2 separate regions of the Homo sapiens genome follow, and region 2 is linked to region 1. The links are contacts of gene promoters, found by promoter capture Hi-C in human tissues and cell types (Jung and others, 2019). All regions are on one chromosome and are shown on one strand. The core of a region is centred on a gene start or on the middle of the fragment in contact, and the rest is flanking DNA. Distances in the headings are between cores, read along the strand shown. Region 1 holds the start of TAS2R19 (taste 2 receptor member 19). Region 2 overlaps PRH1-TAS2R14 (PRH1-TAS2R14 readthrough).

Evidence for each region. The method cuts DNA at HindIII sites, captures the fragments that hold promoters and counts their contacts. A contact is called where the count stands out against the background at its distance.
Region 2: a contact is called between a fragment that was not itself captured here and the fragment with the promoter of TAS2R19 in region 1, in 9 of the 25 tissues and cell types used here (aorta, bladder, heart left ventricle and 6 more).

Annotation. Positions count from the first base shown.
Region 1 is chr12:11,020,492-11,024,351 of GRCh38, reverse strand. It overlaps TAS2R19 (taste 2 receptor member 19), which reads left to right and starts at 1,732. Exons shown (of 1, transcript NM_176888.2): 1 at 1,732-2,733. The coding sequence starts at 1,781. The coding sequence ends at 2,680. The region is part of intron 3 of PRH1-TAS2R14 (PRH1-TAS2R14 readthrough); the gene reads left to right. All of the region lies in intron 3 of PRH1-PRR4 (PRH1-PRR4 readthrough), which reads left to right. It also overlaps a transcript of PRH1 not described here. The HindIII fragment of the contact is 6,813 bases long and covers 1-3,860 here.
Region 2 is chr12:11,116,662-11,120,521 of GRCh38, reverse strand. The region is part of intron 1 of PRH1-TAS2R14 (PRH1-TAS2R14 readthrough); the gene reads left to right. All of the region lies in intron 1 of PRH1-PRR4 (PRH1-PRR4 readthrough), which reads left to right. It also overlaps a transcript of PRH1 not described here. Among named protein-coding and RNA genes, the nearest start is that of TAS2R30, 16 kb to the left of the region's middle. The HindIII fragment of the contact is 6,748 bases long and covers 1-3,860 here.

The sequences.
Region 1 (3,860 bases), core at 483-2,982:
AGCAATGTTCCATGTCTTGCCCTACATGATGGTTACATGAGTGTTTATGACACATTGCTATGTTTTCCATTTTTGTTTTGGTTCATTTCTAAGTGTGCAGTCTAGCTATATGATAAAAATTATTAATTAGGAGAAATGGTCCATGAAAATTATTATTACTCTGCTCATTATATACTGAAGGGAAAAATCCACTATTTGTATACATTCATGTGTAACTCTAAGAGATTTTAAGTAGAAACTTTCTGATTTTAGTTGCAACTTTAGGAAACTTGACATGATGTTACCTGCCAACCACAGATTTCTGAATAGGTTTTTCTTTTAGGTTTAATTACCCACTTCATATGACAAAACTTGGACATTCTCTATTTTTTCCTTCGATCCTGAATTCCTGACACAACAATGGTGGGCATATTTCCCACACTCCTGATTTAGCAGAATACCTACATCACTTATGTTTTTCTGCAAGAGAAAACTGAGTTAGATAATTGTGTATCATTATGTCTTTGGATTACATTTTTCTAACCTAGGTTTGGTGGATGGCTCTGGTGATTGGAGATGGGCCACGTACTGCATCTTGCCGCTAGTTTGGCTGATTTAGGGTAGATAAGGCAGTGGCATTCTGACTCCATTAGTTTCTCTTTCTTCTTCTGGGAACAGTGTGCTAGCCAGATGATGTCCTCATGGTTAGTGGAAAAGAGCAGGAAACTTCAATATGGAAGCCATCTTAAATCTCTGTAAATTCTACTAATTTCCTGTTGACTGAAGCAAATTACGTGAGTGAATTCAGAGTCCAAGGTCAAGGTAGTCACCCTGCCTGAGGTGGGAGGGTACTGCAGGATTATGTGACAAAGAGTAGGGTACTTAGAAATATTTACAAAATTGCTGAACATTTTAATTAAATAATTAATGTTTAAACAAAACAGACTTGAGTGTAAATATACCAAAGGCCTAAGCTTGAGAAACATGTTTGATAAATATTATTCATTGTCTGACAGCCCTGAGTTGGAAAATAAGACTAATACCACCTGGATGAGTTCCTGGAAACTCATTTTCCATTTGGGGAATTATAAGAAAATAATTCCTTCCATGCCCTAAGGGTGTGAGTGCATGTGTGTCTATGTGTTTAGGAGCTTATTAACAATGATGTCATATCAATTTATTGGTTATCAGAAACCAGATTTTAAAGTGTATCAGCCTCCCAGGGATTTCCAAGATAATCTTGGATGATTTTGATAAAAGGTTTAGAATCTGGTATTTAAATCTGGCATAAAAATAAGTCCATATTGGTATGATCCTAGTTATGACCAAGCTCCTTTAACAATTTAGACATTTACTATATGATATATGTATTGGGTTTTACAATTTCCCTATGGAACAACTGAAGATGCTGTATACAAATTATGGAGAGGTTAAACAAGGAAAAAAATTGCAAAACAATGAAAAATAATATGCCTTTCTTTGCATACTAACACATGAGAATTCATTTTCCACTTCAACCTCAGTATAAAAAAGTACAGCATATAGCAAGGAGAGAATGTATATGAAGAGGAGTGAATTTGAGCTGTTTTGAGAATAATGACCTTTTCTATTTCTATAAAGACAGTTTTGAATTCATCTATTAGCATATGCTGGTGCTTGCCTGTTGACACTAGTCACTGAATTTAAAGGCAGAAAATGTTATTGCACATTTAGTAATCAAGTGTTCATCGAAGTTAACATCTGGATGTTAAAGGACTCAGAACAAGTGTTACTAAGCCTGCATTTTTTTATCTGTTCAAACATGATGTGTTTTCTGCTCATCATTTCATCAATTCTGGTAGTGTTTGCATTTGTTCTTGGAAATGTTGCCAATGGCTTCATAGCCCTAGTAAATGTCATTGACTGGGTTAACACACGAAAGATCTCCTCAGCTGAGCAAATTCTCACTGCTCTGGTGGTCTCCAGAATTGGTTTACTCTGGGTCATGTTATTCCTTTGGTATGCAACTGTGTTTAATTCTGCTTTATATGGTTTAGAAGTAAGAATTGTTGCTTCTAATGCCTGGGCTGTAACGAACCATTTCAGCATGTGGCTTGCTGCTAGCCTCAGCATATTTTGTTTGCTCAAGATTGCCAATTTCTCCAACCTTATTTCTCTCCACCTAAAGAAGAGAATTAAGAGTGTTGTTCTGGTGATACTGTTGGGGCCCTTGGTATTTCTGATTTGTAATCTTGCTGTGATAACCATGGATGAGAGAGTGTGGACAAAAGAATATGAAGGAAATGTGACTTGGAAGATCAAATTGAGGAATGCAATACACCTTTCAAGCTTGACTGTAACTACTCTAGCAAACCTCATACCCTTTACTCTGAGCCTAATATGTTTTCTGCTGTTAATCTGTTCTCTTTGTAAACATCTCAAGAAGATGCGGCTCCATAGCAAAGGATCTCAAGATCCCAGCACCAAGGTCCATATAAAAGCTTTGCAAACTGTGACCTCCTTCCTCATGTTATTTGCCATTTACTTTCTGTGTATAATCACATCAACTTGGAATCTTAGGACACAGCAGAGCAAACTTGTACTCCTGCTTTGCCAAACTGTTGCAATCATGTATCCTTCATTCCACTCATTCATCCTGATTATGGGAAGTAGGAAGCTAAAACAGACCTTTCTTTCAGTTTTGTGGCAGATGACACGCTGAGTGAAAGAAGAGAAACCCTCAACTCCATAGATTCACAAGGGGAGCATCGTGGGTCTTCTAGCAGAAAACAAACTGATGGTGTCTGGAACATTTTATATTTCTATCAGTTTTTCCATAGTGTTTGTATGTGAGTAATTTCAAAACAGATACCTAGAAAAGTCATATATATATTTATGGGTGTATATGTGTGCATGTGTGTGAATAACAACGTTGACCATAAATTATGAAGCTGAGTATATTTCACATATATAGTATTTATATTTTATTATAGTTCATTGTATAGTATTTCATTTGAAGAATTTATTATCTCTCTTTATAATTAAGAACGTACAGCTTTTATGAAGAAATCATTTCTCTTTTCCATTGTAATTTGTACCACATATATGTGCTTAACTATCATTGGTGAACCTCTAATTTTTTGGATGGTAAAGACATTCAATTTTAAATCAATGATAAGAATGGATCTTTGGGGTAGGTTTTATTTCATTATGAATTCTTATTTTATGCTTAGTAGAAAGCAAATAGAATTGTTGTTAGTTAATGATGCACACAATAAAATTGGAGTGAAAAACATATGTAGAGTAAATTTTGTATATGTATACCAAAACAGTACTAAAGAATACTAGATTTAATACCAGTATGTGAATAGCCTAGAATAAAAATCATTTCTATAATAGGAATGAAGAAACATGCTGATGATCATTTCAGTGCTGTTATAATTTTTTTATCTGTAGTTAGAAAAGTCATTGCTTCCACTTTTTGAATTAAAGGAAACCTTTTGTGAAGTTGACATCTGATGTCAAGTATTTCCATTTGTTTTTCTTAGCCACCTTGAGCCCCTGAATTTCCAATTTTCTCCTTTGTCTCCCATTCCTAATATTCCTCAAAAAAACTCAAATATTCTCTATCTTAAAAAAACAGGCCAATCAAAGGAGGGTATAGAAACTATAGAAGATAATCAAATGAAACTTTCCTCAAATGTTAAAAATTATGTAAAAATTACATAAAAATCTGTGAAATCTATATAATTGATAGGAAATGTATTAATGATATGTATTATTATAATGGTGTAAATGGTGAAATTACACAGTGTGTTGATGTATCCATTGATACCAAGTTCTATTATAAGAAGGAAATGTACAGCCTTGTTGAAGAGCTAAATTCTGTGTGACTGTGTTAA
Region 2 (3,860 bases), core at 439-2,938, 96 kb before region 1:
GGACTAAAACGTCAGTAAAAAAGCTGTAGAGTTACTGGGTTGAAGTAACAGAGGACTGAGTTTAGGGTAACATGAGCCGCAGGAGATCAGGAGAAAATCTGAGAAAGGAGAAGTCCAGAAAAGGGGAGCCCCAGCTTCTGACTATAAACTATCCAAAGCTTTGTCTGGTCCCTACACCACACATGTATAGGCAGACTTCATGAAGCCCAGCTAAAATAATAAAATTGATTTCAGTTATCATCAAGCACAGTGAGGACAGAAATAGCAACAAAACACATTACTTTAGGCAAAGATACTCTTTTCTTGAAAACCCAAACTACATTCCATTACCTTTCATAACAGTCATATTCCTTGTCCATTCTTGTTTCTACCATGGTTCTAACTCCTACTTTTATTCATTACATTAATCAAAGTAATTCTCTTTCAAAGAGGAAACTGGAAGTTATGTAATTGAGGACTATTAAAAATAAGTATTTTGGCAGATGTGCAAAATTCTCAAGCACATATATTACAACTTTCTATAGTCATATACATCCTTTTTACACTTGCTTGAATTGGCATACAAAACTCCCATGTTTGTTAATGTAATCCAAACAAATAGCCAGTCCATAAAATATAAAAGTTACATTTAGTTATTTATTTATATAACCCGTGATTGGTGACCACATTTCAGTATTCCATCTTAACTAGTAATTATCCAAAGATTTTCATGAAGTCACTGAATCTAATATTAGTCTAAGGTCTTGAACTAGGAATCTTGGAAATTAAATTTAAGACAATAGGCTACAGAAAATAATTACTGTCAATATGTGGAATTTTTCATAATTTGTATTCAGTTTGTTTGAAAACATAATTTTACATTTTTTGGTATTTTAACATTATGTGGGCATATTAGTTTACCTTATCAGTAAACAGGTATGGGAAGTTTAGGAATTTCTTTTTTTTTAATGTATTTTTAAGTTTTGTGGATATATAGTAGGTCTGTATTGAGTACACGGGATGTGTTGATACAGGCATGCAAAGAGTAATAATCACATAAGAATGGGGTAGCCATCCCCTCAAACATTTACTCTTTTTTGTTACAAACAATCCAGTTATACTCTTTTAGTTACGTTAAAATGTACAGCTAAATTATCATTGACTATAGTCACTCTGCTGTGGTATCAAATAGTAGGTCTCATTCACTCTTTCTATTTTTTTTTTTTGGTAGCCATTAACCAGCCACACCTTCCCTTTAGCCCCCACTACCTTTCCTAGCCTTTGTTAACCATCTATGTACTCTCTATGTCCACGAGTTCAATTGTTTTGATTTTTAGATACCACAGATGAGTGAGAAAGTGCAATGCTTGCCTTTCTGCACAAACATTGCAGTTATTTTTTACTTATTCAACTTAACATAATAATCTCCAATTCCATCCGTATTGCTGCAAATGACAGGATCTCATTTTTTAAATGGCTGAATAGTACTCCACTGTGTATATGTACCACATTCTCTCTCCCTCTTTTTTTTTTTTTTTTTTTTTTTTTTGAGATGGAGTCTCGCTCTGTCTCCAGGCTGGAGTGCAGTGGCGCAATCTCGGCTCACTGCAACTTCAGCCTCCCAGGTTCAAGTGGTTCTCCTGCCTCAGCCTCCTGAGTCGCTGGGACTACAGGCGCCAGCCACCACGCCCAGCTAATTTTTTTGTATTTTTAGTAGCGATGGGGTTTCACCATGTTGGCCAGGATGGTCTCAATCTCTTGACCTCATGATCCACCCACCTCGGCCTCCCAAAGTGCTGGGATTACCGGTGTCAGCCACCGCCCCCGGCCATACCACCTTCTCTTTATCTATTCATCTGTTGCTGGACACTTTGATTGCTTCCAAATCTTGGCTATTGTGAACAGTGCTACAACAAACATGGGAGTGTGGATACCTGTTTGATACACTTACTTCCTTTCTTTTGGGTATATACCCACCAGCGAGATTGCTGGATCATATGGTAACTCTAATTTTAGTCTTTTGAGAAACCTTTAAACTGTTTTCCATAGTGGTTTTACTAATTTATATTCCCACCTGCGGTGTACAGTGGTTCCCGTTTCTCCACATCCTCACCAGCATTTGTTACTACCTGTCTTTTGTATATAAGCTGTTTTAACTGGGATGAGATGATATCTTATTTTAGTTTTGATTTGCATTTCTCTGATGATCAATGATGTTGAGCACCTTTTCACATGTCTGTTTGACATTCGTATATCTTGTTTTGAGAAATGACTATCCAAATATTTCACCCATTTTTTTGATCAGATTGTTAGATTTTTTTTCCTATACAGTTGTTTAAGCTCCTTTTATATTCTGGTTATTAATCCCTTGCCAGATGAGTAGTTTGCAAATATTTTCTCCTATTCTGTGGATTGTCTCTTCACTTTGTTGATCATACCTTTGCTGTGCAGAAGTATTTTTTAACTTGATGTGATCCCAATTGTGCATTTTTTACTTGGTTGCCTGTACTTGTAGGGTATTACTACTTAAGAAATTTTTGCTCAAACCAATGTCCTGGGGAGTTTCTCTGATGTTTTCTTATGGGAGCTTCATGGTTTGAGATCTTAATCATACATCTTTAATCCATTTTGATTTGATATTTGTATAGATATATGGGCCTAGTTTCATTCTTCTGCATATGGATATTCAGTTGTCCCAGCACCATTTATTGAAGAGACTGTCTTTTTCCAGTGTACGTTCTTGGCATCTTTTTCAAAAATGAGTTCACTGTAGGTGTGTGGGTTTGTTTCCGAGTTGTCTGTTCTGTTCCATCGTTCTATGTGTCAGTTTTAATGCCAGTACATGCTGTTTTGGTTTCTGTAGCCTCAGTAGTAAGTATCATATGAAGTCAAGTAACATGATTCCTTCAGTTTTGTTCTTTTTTCTTAGGATAGTTTTGGCTATTCTGGGTCAGTTGTGGCTCTATATAAATTTTAGGATTGTTTTCTCTATTTCTGTGAAGAATGTTTTTGGTATTTTGATAGGAATTGCATTGAATCTGTAGATTCTTTGGGTAGTATGGCCATTTTAACAATGTTGATACTTCTAATCCATGAACATGGACTATCTTTTCTTTTTTTGGGTGTCCTTTTCCATTTCTTTCATTAGAGTTTTATAGTTTTCATTATAGAGCTATTTCATCTCTTTGGCTGAGTTAATTTTCAGGTATTTAATTTTATGTGTGACCTTTGTAAGTGGGATTACTTTTTTGATTTTGTTTTCAAATTGTTCACTATTGGCATGTAGAAATACTACTAATTTTTTATGTTAATTGTGTATTCTGCAAATTTACTGAGTTTGTTTATCAATTCTAATAGTTTTTGGTACAGTCTTCAGGTTTTACAAATATAAGATCATATTGTTTACAAACAAGCGTAATTTGACTTGTTCCTTTCCTATGTGGATGCTCTTTATTTTTCTTGAGTGATTGCTCCAGCCAGAGCTTCTACTATTATGTTGAATAATAGTAGTGAATGTGAGCATTCTTGTCATGTTCCAGATCTTAGAGGAAAGCCTTTTAGTTTTTCCCAATTTAGTATGATACTAGTTGTGGGTCTTTTTATGTGATTTTTATTATGTTGAGATTTTCCTTCTATATCCAGTTTTCTGAGGGTTTTTATCATGAAGGAATGTTGAATCTTATCAAATGCTTTTTCAGCATTAATTAAAACGTTTATATGGTTCTTGACCTTCATTCTGTATATATGATGTATCACATTGATTGATTTGTGTATGTTGAACTATCCTTGCATCCTAGGGATAAATCCCACTTGTTCATGAGGAAATATCTTTTTAATGTATTATTTAATTTGGTTCACTAGTATAGTATTGAGACTTTGGA